Regions from separate parts of the Homo sapiens genome. Here region 2 is linked to region 1. Evidence: promoter capture Hi-C in 16 types of primary human blood cells and fetal thymus (Javierre and others, 2016). All regions are on one chromosome and are shown on one strand. The core of a region is centred on a gene start or on the middle of the fragment in contact, and the rest is flanking DNA. Distances in the headings are between cores, read along the strand shown. Region 1 has its middle 3.1 kb from the start of GPR61. Region 2 holds the start of GSTM3 (glutathione S-transferase mu 3).

Evidence for each region. The method cuts DNA at HindIII sites, captures the fragments that hold promoters and counts their contacts. A CHiCAGO score of 5 or more calls a contact.
Region 2: a contact is called between the fragment with the promoter of GSTM3 here and a fragment that was not itself captured in region 1, in 3 of 17 cell types (M2 macrophages, endothelial precursors and M0 macrophages). The highest score is 7.5, in M2 macrophages.

The regions. Positions count from the first base shown.
Region 1 is chr1:109,534,110-109,539,431 of GRCh38, reverse strand. No RefSeq gene overlaps it. Among named protein-coding and RNA genes, the nearest start is that of GPR61, 3.1 kb to the left of the region's middle. RefSeq lists an enhancer at 1-47. The HindIII fragment of the contact is 720 bases long and covers 1,623-2,342 here.
Region 2 is chr1:109,739,053-109,744,374 of GRCh38, reverse strand. It overlaps GSTM3 (glutathione S-transferase mu 3), which reads left to right and starts at 3,337. Exons shown (of 9, transcript NM_000849.5): 1 at 3,337-3,422; 2 at 3,864-4,135; 3 at 4,467-4,542; 4 at 4,882-4,946. The coding sequence starts at 4,088. RefSeq lists a silencer at 3,898-4,127. The HindIII fragment of the contact is 14,932 bases long and covers 2,152-5,322 here.

The sequences.
Region 1 (5,322 bases), core at 733-3,232:
ACCCAGGGCCCCAAGGCTTAGGCCAGGGAGGCGGCTGAGGCTCCAGGGGATGGTCCAAGGTTTGGCCCCTTTGGAAGCTGCCTAATGCGTATGGGGGACAGGTTTAGGAGCAGCACTCAGGTTTGAAGGGCAGCTGAAGGCTTTGTCTTAACCCTGCCCTTGCCTCCCAAAAGCACATTATTATTATTTGCTTAGATTGTATGTTTATTGGAACTGGGGCTGTGAGGGCTGATGGAGATTGGCAGGGAGGGGGCGGGAGGATCTAACATCCCCCCGAGCCACCATGGGAACCACCACAACACTGCTTCCTGAAGGAGACAGAGTGGGGGCCAGGGACTCAGGAATGCTCACACTGATCTGGATTTGTGGGACTGGACAGAGCTAGGTAGCATCAGCCACTGAGCATCGCCCATCTGTGGCATGATGGGCCTTCAGAGACGCAATGAAGGGGCATGGCCTCCCTCTAGCTATGAAGAAAATGATCATTTACCCGGGTACATGACTGATACCCAAGGATAGAATCCTAACATTGCAAAGCTGTAGGACATCCTACAGGCCAAGGTATCCATGTTTCTGAGACCCAGAGAGATAAAGAGATTGCTCAAAGCCACATAGCTCCACATGGCAGAGCCATGAGTCTAAACAGGGAATTCAGGCATGATCCCCTACTCCAGAGCCTGCTTCCCTGAGACTTGCCTATCTAGGGACTCCTTCTGCCTCTAAGAAGGAAAAAGGGAATTCTGGAATTGTTTACCAGACCCAACCCAAAGAGCCATAAGAACAATGAGTTACCCAAGGACCTCACTGGGACAAGTTGGCTGCCCCAAGCCCCAGGTCAAAAACAAAGAGGCCACTGACAAACCAAGAGCCGATGCAGCAAGTGCCGCTGTCACCAGCCACCACTTTTTGAGCTGTTATGAGTGCCAGGCCCTTTACATACAGTTTCTTTGATCCCCACACCAATCTATGAGGCAGCCATGACTTGCCCTATTTTATAAGTGAGGAACCGGGTGCTGGAGGAGAAGTGACTTTCCCCAAATCACACAGCTAATAAGTGCAAGAGCTGATATTTGAACCCAGATCTGTTTGAAGTCCAAGTATTTCCTCCTCCTTCTCCCTTCGTTCCGTGGCCTCTCCAGTGGCCTGACACAAGACTGTGGACTACAGCCCTAAAAGCTATCTTCATAGAAGTAGTCACTGCCTTCCAGAAAGCCTAAAACAGACCTCAAAATTAGGCATACCTGCGTACAAGAAATTCAAATGGAAATACCAAATTGAAAACCTGTAGACAGCAAAGTGATTTTTAGGAAGCCCTGTGCTGTTGTGTTGGCAAGATTAATTTGGCATCAAGCAGATTGTCTGGGATTAGGTAAAGCCTGTCCCTGCTCAGCACCCACATTCTTCCTGCAGGGCCCCAGCCCAGACTGGCATGGCCCCTTCCGAGGGATTCAATAAGAACTGGAGCAGACCTGGGCCCACTGGAACAGGATTTTAGAAAGAGCGCTAGACTGGAGTCAGAAAACCTTGGTTCCAGTTTGGCGCCATTCTATTGGTTGGTGGTAAGACCTTGGCCTGTGAGTTGGCTGTCTGTGAAAATGGGCAAAATTCTTCACTTCCAAGCTTATCTAATAGTGGTAGGGAGCCTGCAAAACAAACATAGCCTGCCTCTCCAGCTTCAGGGAGCTAGCACAGGTAATCACAGCTCATGTGGTGGCCAGCAGGCAAGGCGTCCGTGTCCTGAAGCCCCTCCCAGAGAGCTATTGGGAAAGGCAGTACCAAAGAGGCAGCATGTTCCAGCTGTTGGAACCATCTTGGCTCAGGAGGTCGGCGGGGGAACTGCTTATTCTAGCCTGTGGGCAAATAATAAATAATAATAATAATCATGCTGGCTGGGCACAGTGGCTCACGCCTGTAATTCCAGCACTTTGGGAGGCTGAGGCGGGCAGATGATTTGAGATCAGGAGTTCAAGACCAGCCTGGCCAACATGGCGAAACCCCGTCTCTACTAAAAATACAAAAATTAGCTAGGCATGGTGACACATGCCTGTAATCCCAGCTACTCAGGAGGCTGAGGCAGGAGAATCGCTTGAACCCAGGAGGTGGAGGTTGCAGTGATCTGAGATCGCACCATTGCACTCCAGCCTGGGCAATAAGAGTGAGACTCTGTCTCAAAAAATAATAATAATAAATAATAATAATAATAATGCTACTAGTTCTTGAAGGCCCACTTTGGGAGGCACTTCTTATGCTGTATCTTATTAAATGATCTCAGTCAGGGTGTGGAGTAGCTACTGACAGCACACCCCCAACCCCACCTGCCAGTCCCTCCTTTTAGTAAAGCTTAGCACAATGGAGGGGGCAAGAAGACCAAGATGGAGAAACTGAGTGTGATCCCCCAAACCACATAAGAGATCCATGGCTCACTATGCTGTGCACACACCCAGGAAGGGAATCCTGTTACAGGACGGGGACCAGGCCCTGTTTCCAACAGTGGCACCCCTTCCCTTGGTATCATGGCAGGGCCCTTGCTGCTGAGGACTGATCTTTGCATCCTAGACTTGCTCCCTGGTACAGTTTTACCCAACCCTTGTGCACCAGCACCTCGTGACAGGGTCGTGTCTGCCCATCCACCCTTTTCTGCCCCAGGATGAGACCTGGAAGCCAATCAAGTTTATCTTTCATTCATCCATCCACTTCTTCAATAAACATTGAAGACTTCTTATGTTGCCACTGCCCCCTCCCTAGAGCCCCTTGCCTGCTCAGTGGCACCCACTACCCTCCTTCTCTGCCTTGTGTCAGAATCTGCTCTCAGGAAAGAGGTTGATAAACCCATTTGCACTGATAGCAACTTAATGTGTTCTTTCCCAGGAATATTAACAATTTAACAGGGAACAAAGAGAAGAAGCAGAACGTTGGGATTCCAGCATCGACCAGGGATGTCCCTGAGATCCCACAACATAGACTGCCTGTCAGCCGCCTACTCCCTAGCCAGGCCTCCCCCGCCAAGCTGCTGGCATTGTGTCCTCTTGGCATCCACCTCCATCCGCATGGGCACCCAACCCCCCCGCCCCTGCCAACCAGACAGCAGGCTTACAGCTGGGACCTCCACACCACAGCTCAGTTCCTGGCTTCCTGGGGCCCCCCTGTACCAGCACCAGCCATGCCTGCTTTCCAAGCACTCACCTCACCCTGCCCAGCATCTGGGAGCCAGGCCAAGGGGCTGAGGAGGGAGGCAGAGGAAAGCAGAGGTGAGAGCCCTTCCATTCTCTTTATTCCCCCACTGTCTGGCCTACACCCCCTGCCAGGAGCTGAGATCCAATGGTATATTCAGCCTGCAGCTGCCACTGGTCATGTGAGCCCATTGCTAGGTTACAGGGACCCAAAAATAAATCCTTCCCAACCAGATTAGAAACTGGGGGCCTCGGATGAACCAGGCTCAAAAGAGTGGCAGGAACACCCACAGTGCATGTTTAGGCCAGGCCTGCTATGGACCAGGGCCCTTCCCATGCTGCCCACCTCCTGTCCATCAGCAGGGGCTCAATGCTGGAACCCCACAGAAAAGTCCCAGAGAGCTCCTGGGTCTCCTATTTATTAATAACACAATAAATAGGTCTACAGGTTGAGTGGCCCTTCCTCACTAGCAATCAGGGTAATATCCTCTGCATGTTCTTCCCATCCAACCTTCCCATCATCAGCCTGTCCCTCCACAGGCCCTGCCCTACACCCAGTGCATGGGCAAAGCGAATTAGTCATTTGCCCTGTGGCCTGGGGGCCATCTGCCCTAACAGTCCTTTTCCAGACTCGGGAAGGGAGCTCTGGCAGTAGGCACAGCACTAGGCGTATTCGTGTGAGTAGTCTTACACAATCTTCTCTGTTAGTCTCAATGATTCCATTTACAGATATGGACACTGGGGCTTAGAGAGGTTAAGTGACTTTTGCAGAGCCACACAGTTGAGCAACTGGGGTTCAAACCCCAGATCTATACTATGGGGATGAGGCAAGGAAGAAGACAGGGAAGCACAGTTATGGAAAGGGGAGTTCCCCAAAACCCTTCCCTGGGGCCTGAAAACTTGGCACTTTAATTGCTCTGAATTGGAGGGGAGTTATCTCCCCCTGGAACTTCTTTCACATCCTCCAAGCCAGGACGCAGCTTACCCAGGCCACGTACCTCCTTCCCCATGGCTTTGGGCTCTGTCCCCTTCTCTGGGAAATACTGTCCAGGACCTGGGTGGGGTCATCCCCGGTGCTGAAGCCTGGGGAGGCAGACACAAATCCCCACTGCTCAGCACAACCCTGCTTCAGAAGCTTGACATAGGGCCAGAGTAGCAAAGCTGAAAGGATCACAGGAGGTCAGGTGTCTAACTCCTGATTTTACAGATGAACAGGCCTAGAGTGGAAAGGGAACTTGCCCAGGGCTAGGCTACACAGCTAGAGGGTAAAGGAGGTGCAACCAGAACCCAAGCCTCCGGAGTCCTGCTCCTTTTTTCAGCTTGTCATTAATGGCGCACATTTGGGTTCCTGGGGCCCTTCCTCAACCCACCATATCCCTAGGACCTCCCAGCTGTCTGTTTTCTTCAGCTCCTCCTCCCCAGCAAGGTTCTGAGAAGGCCCAGACACCCCACTTACCTCTGTACTGTCCTTGTCTCCCCATTTTGAGTACATTCCTATGGTCTCCTGAAGCCTGGGAGCACCCTATTCCCACCTCCTTCAGCTCCTAGCAGCCCAAACTGCAGGCTCTATGTCACTCCATTCAAGACATGTTTATTGAGCAACTACTATATGCAAAGCTCTGTATAGGAAGTGAGGAAGAGGGTTACAAAGATTAAACAAATACAGACTTGCCTTCTTGGTGCTTATGTCTAGGATGGGGACAATGCAGGCTGTAAGTGTCAAGGGATGGTGAAATTGCTGGGGAGATTCAAAGGAAAAAGTGAACTTACTTCCTCATGAAATCTAGGAAGACTTCATGAAGGAAGTGGCACGGGTCTTAAAGGAGGAGTAGGATTTTAACTGTGAGTAACTGAAAGAGGCTGAGGACAGTAGTCTAGATGGAAAAAGAAGGCCTACCAAAAATATGGAAATAGCAAGTTTAGGAAATATTAGGGCACTGTGAGTTCTCCAATTTGACTGAAAAATAATCTGGCTGTAGGGAAGAAGTGAGAATAGAAAGGTAGATTTATGGTAGATTTATGGGACTGCGCCCCCTGCAAGCCAGGCTGAGAAGCCAGACTGAGAAGTCAACATAGCAAAATGTCTTGAGCAGGGAAACATAAGGCCACAGATGTGCCCATCTCCTATCTTTTTTTTTTTTTTTTAAGATAG
Region 2 (5,322 bases), core at 2,088-4,587, 200 kb before region 1:
CCATACTGCCCAAGGTAATTTACAGATTCAATGCCATCCCCATCAAGCTACCAATGACTTTCTTCACAGAATTGGAAAAAACTACTTTAAAGTTCATATGGAACCAAAAAAGAGCCCGCATTGCCAAGTCAATCCTAAGCCAAAAGAACAACGCCAGAGGCATCATGCTACCTGACTTCAAACTATACTACAAGGCTACAGTAACCAAAGCAGCATGGTACTGGTACCAAAACAGAGATATAGATCAATGGAACAGAACAGAGCCCTCAGAAATAATGCCACATATGTACAACCATCTGATCTTTGACAAACCTGACAAAAACAAGCAATGGGGAAAGGATTCCCTATTTAATAAATGGTACTGGGAAAACTGGCTAGCCATATGTAGAAAGCTGAAACTGGATCCCTTCCTTACACCTTATACAAAAATTAATTCAAGATGGATTAAAGACTTACATGTTAGACCTAAAACCATAAAAACCCTAGAAGAAAACCTAGGCAATACCATTCTGGACATAGGCATGGGCAAAGACTTCATGTCTAAAACACCAAAAGCAATGGCAACAAAAGCCAAAATTGACAAATGGGATCTAATTAAACTAAAGAGCTTCTCCACAGCAAAAGAAACTACCATCAGAGTGAACACGCAACCTACAAAATGGGAGAAAATTTTCACAACCTACTCATCTGACAAAGGGCTAATATCCAGAATCTACAATGAACTCAAACAAATTTACAAGAAAAAAACAAACAACCCCATCAAAAAGTGGGCAAAGGATATGAACAGACACTTCTCAAAAGAAGACATTTATGCAGCCAAAAAACACATGAAAAAATGCTCACCATCACTGGCCATCAGAGAAATGCAAATCAAAACCACAATGAGTTACCATCTCACACCAGTTAGAATGGCAATCATTAAAAAGTCAGGAAACGAGGTGCTGGAGAGGATGTGGAGAAATAGGAACACTTTTACACTTTTGGTGGGACTGTAAACTAGTTCAACATTGTGGAAGTCAGTGTGGCGATTCCTCAGGGATCTAGAACTAGAAATACCATTTGACCCAGCCATCCCATTACTGGGTATATACCCAAAGGATTATAAATCATGCTGCTATAAAGACACATGCACACGTATGTTTATTGCGGCACTATTCACAATAGCAAAGACTTGGAACCAACCCAAATGTCCAACAACGATAGACTGGATTAAGAAAACATGGCACATATACACCATGGAATACTATCCAGCCATAAAAAATGATGAGTTCATGTCCTTTGTAGGGACATGGATGAAACTGGAAACCATCATTCTCAGCAAACTATCGCAAGGACAAAAAACCAAACACCGCATGTTCTCACTCATAGGTGGGAACTGAACAATGAGAACACATGGACACAGGAAGGGGAACATCACACTCCAGGGACTGTTGTGGGGTGGGGGGAGGGGGGAGGGATAGCATTAGGAGATATACCTAGTGTTAAATGAGGAGTTAATGGGTGCAGCACACCAACATGGCACATGTATACATATGTAACAAACCTGCACATTGTGCACATATACCCTGAAACTTAAAGTGTAATAATAATAAAATTTAAAAAAAAGAAAGTAATGCAAAAACTGCAAAAAAAAAAAAAGAAAAAGAAAAGAAAATGGGCATAACACCTACTTCCTAAAGTTGTTGTGAAGCTTAAATTGGAATAAATTAGCTAACATACGTAAACACTTAGATATTGCCTGGCATATGATAGGTGCTCAATAAATGTTAATCTTATACCTCAGGTGAATTTGTGACTGGCCTTTTGCTTTCTTGGGAGGAGAGACACAGGCATTATAAATTTCACCTGTCCATGTGGTTTGTACTCTTCCTTTCTTCTGTTTAGCAAAATGCCCTTTTAAAAAGTCCCAACCTTGCTTCAGTTGAACTGATGGGCAAATGTGATTTCCCACACCTGAGCTAGGGGATCTAGGCTCTCAGACTGCCCTGAGAGCTGTGCTGCAGAGGCCTGGCCAGAACCCTCAGAGCAGCTCCGGACTCCTTCCTCTGTCACTCCTCCACATTCAACTAGAATCCTATGTCTCCCGAGTTGACCCTGTTGCAAATCTGTGCCCCTTTTCATTTGCATGGGCCCTGCCGAAATTCAGAAGCTTAGTTCTTCCCATGACTATAGGGGCCTCGGGCAGGTCTCTTGCTCTGTCAAGGTCAAAACCCCTACTTTCCTAAATTCAACCATTGATTCTCCATCTTCATCTTACTTGATCAGCCACACTTGACATAGTTGATCACTTCTCCCTTTAAACATCTTCACATGGCTTCTGGGACCTTTTGTTTTCCTCCTACCTCCCTGGCCACTCCTTTTCAGACTCCTTTGCTGGTTTGCTCTCATTTTTCCCTAACCTTTACATGTTGATATGCCAGAGCACCTCAAACCCTTAGACCTCATCTCTGCTACTCGTGCTCCCATGGTGATCTCATCTAGTCTCTGGTTTCAAACACAGAGTGATCACTCCTGTACTTGCTGTTTCCCTTTTCCTGGAGTTCTCTCTGCCTCCTGCAGGTAGGAAGTGATTCGAGATAAGAGAGGGAGAGAACTCTTCTGGCCAGGATAGAGGGTGATTCTGAGAAGGCTTCAAGGAAGAAGTGAGCATTTGAGCACGGCTACTTGAGGAAGGCTAGGCCATGGACATTAGGGTGCAGGCAGGAGCAGAGCAAACATGCTTGTAAAAGGAACAGCAATTATTCTGTTTTATATTTATATCAGCCCATGGTGGCCCCCACAGCAGAGTGGCTTGATCTCTCACCTCCTTCAGGTCTTTGTTTAAAGATTAACTTCTCCATGAGGCCTTCTATGAACATAACCTTTAAAAACATAAATCCCCTTCCTACTGGGACTCCCCCAGTTCCCACCCTGAGACCCCCTATCTCTCTTCTCGATTTTATTTCTCTCCATAGGATGTGTATCACCACCTGACTTACTAGCTATTTACTATATATTAGTTTATTTCTTCCCCATTAGAATGTAAACTTCCTGAGGGCAGGGATTTTGTCTGTTGAGTTCAGTTCTGTATCCCCAGCACCTAAAACAGTGCCTGTCCATAACAGGCATGTTAAACATTGTTGGACAGATGAATGAGTGAATGAAAAATGGTAGTACCTTTCCTCCTCCAGTCCATCCTACACAAAGAGGCAAGATTAATTTCCCTAAATGCGTGAGCATTAGGAAGTGGGAGGGATTGGAGGAGGAAATTATAATAAGGAATCCATAAATTACTTAAGCCCATAAAACAAAGGTAGGAAACATTCAAGATAAGAGACCTCTTCTGGCCAGGATAGAGGTTGGTTCTGAGAAGGCTTCAAGGAATAGGCAGACATTTCAGCAAGGCTGCTGAGGAAGGATAGGCTGTGGAAATTAGGATGCAGGTAGGAGGATCACAGAGCAAACACTCCAAGGTGGGAAATGCAAGTGTGTGTAGAAGGAACAGCAAGTATTGTTGGGTTGGGCTGGCTTATGAAGTTGTGACGGGCTGAGGGAGAGACAGGACTGGAAAAGCACGTTGGGGTCAGGTTGCAGAGGTCCTTGACTGACAGAGAGGGGAGCTTGGTCTGTGGGGAATCTTCTGCTCTGTGTGGTCAGAGGCTGGTCTGACTCTCCGGCCTTGCCCCAGTCTTCCTATCCTTCATCCAGCCCCGGCTGGCTCGGTAAAAACGGCGCGAATCTCGCTCTCCCTGGGTAACTAGGGTCCCCACTGCCTGGCTAGTGGTGCTTTTCGCGTCTTCACTGGCACCATTAATGAATGAAGTCTGGCTCCCACCCGCGGGGAAGGGAGGAGCCTCAACCTCGGGTCCTTTGCTCTCCTGCAGCACTCCTGCCCGGGTCCCGCCTCGGGGTCGCCAGGCCCTGAACCCCAACGCCGGCATTAGTCGCGCCTGCGCACGGCCCTGTGGAGCCGCGGAGGCAAGGGACGGAGAACGGGGCGGAGGCGGAGTCAGGGCGCCCGCGCGTGGGCCCCGCCCCCTTATGTCGGGTATAAAGCCCCTCCCGCTCACAGTTTCCCTAGTCCTCGAAGGCTCGGAAGCCCGTCACCATGTCGTGCGAGTCGTCTATGGTTCTCGGGTACTGGGATATTCGTGGGGTGAGTGCCGTCTCAACGGTAGAGCCGCTCGGTCAAAGAGACTGACGCGGAGAGGGCGGGTCTCTGGGTCCGCGATCTCCAGCAGGAGCAGCTCTACGCGGGAGCCTTTTCGAGCTGCCGAGCCACGGATGTCGACCCCTGCCCAGCCTCTGGGATCGCGGGCCCTGTGGGGAGGGGCGGAGGAGACCACGCCGGAGCCGGGCCTAGGGGCCGCTTAACCACCGCCCCGGCAGGACGCAGGGACTCGGCAGCCCCGGGCCGGGGAACGTTAGCGGGCGGGGGTTGGGAATGGGTGGGAGCTGCGCAGTCGCTGAACCGCTGTCTTCCCCAGCTGGCGCACGCCATCCGCCTGCTCCTGGAGTTCACGGATACCTCTTATGAGGAGAAACGGTACACGTGCGGGGAAGGTAATGCCGCTCCGCGTGCCCGTGCAGCCAAGCTGGCCCTCCACCTGCCCTGGTCTTCTTACGCCCAGAGGGTGGTGGCGTCGCGCCAAGGCCGGGTGGGACGTTTGCCCCAATCTGGGTGAATAGAGACACATCCTTTATCTGGAACTGGGGGTTCTCTTTTTAACATAGCCCAAACCCGTCTTAATGCTTAACCAAATAGGGCTCAGAGGCTCAATGGTTATGCTTTTGGGGCCTGGGAATTTGAGGTATTGGGACCAAGTCATTTCTTTAGATCTTTTGCTCTTGTCAGGTGGGGTATTAAGGAGGTTGGGTCCCACTTAATTCCGTCTCTTACAGCTCCTGACTATGATCGAAGCCAATGGCTGGATGTGAAATTCAAGCTAGACCTGGACTTTCCTAATGTAAGTGGCTTTAGTAGAGGTGGCGGGCAGAAGGGAAAGCCTTCAAGTATATCCATCCTTGCCTCTCTCCTGCCTGGTACAGAAGGATGCAAAATAGGGGATCTTAACCCGGATAGAATAAATAGAATTCAGGGGTCCTTGAACTGGATGGATATGTATTTTCATTCCCATTAACCACTAGCAAAAGTTATTTCCTTTTATTGTGAAGAGAGACAATAAGTGACATTGGTTATTAGCCATGTCTGTCACTTTGTCACTAGTAGAAATCAGGTATTTTCTTTTTTGTGTGTTTCTTGTTCTTTTGTTTTGAGACAGTGTCTCACTCTGTCGCTCAGGCTGGAGTGCAGTGGCGCAATCACAGCTCACTGCAGCCTCA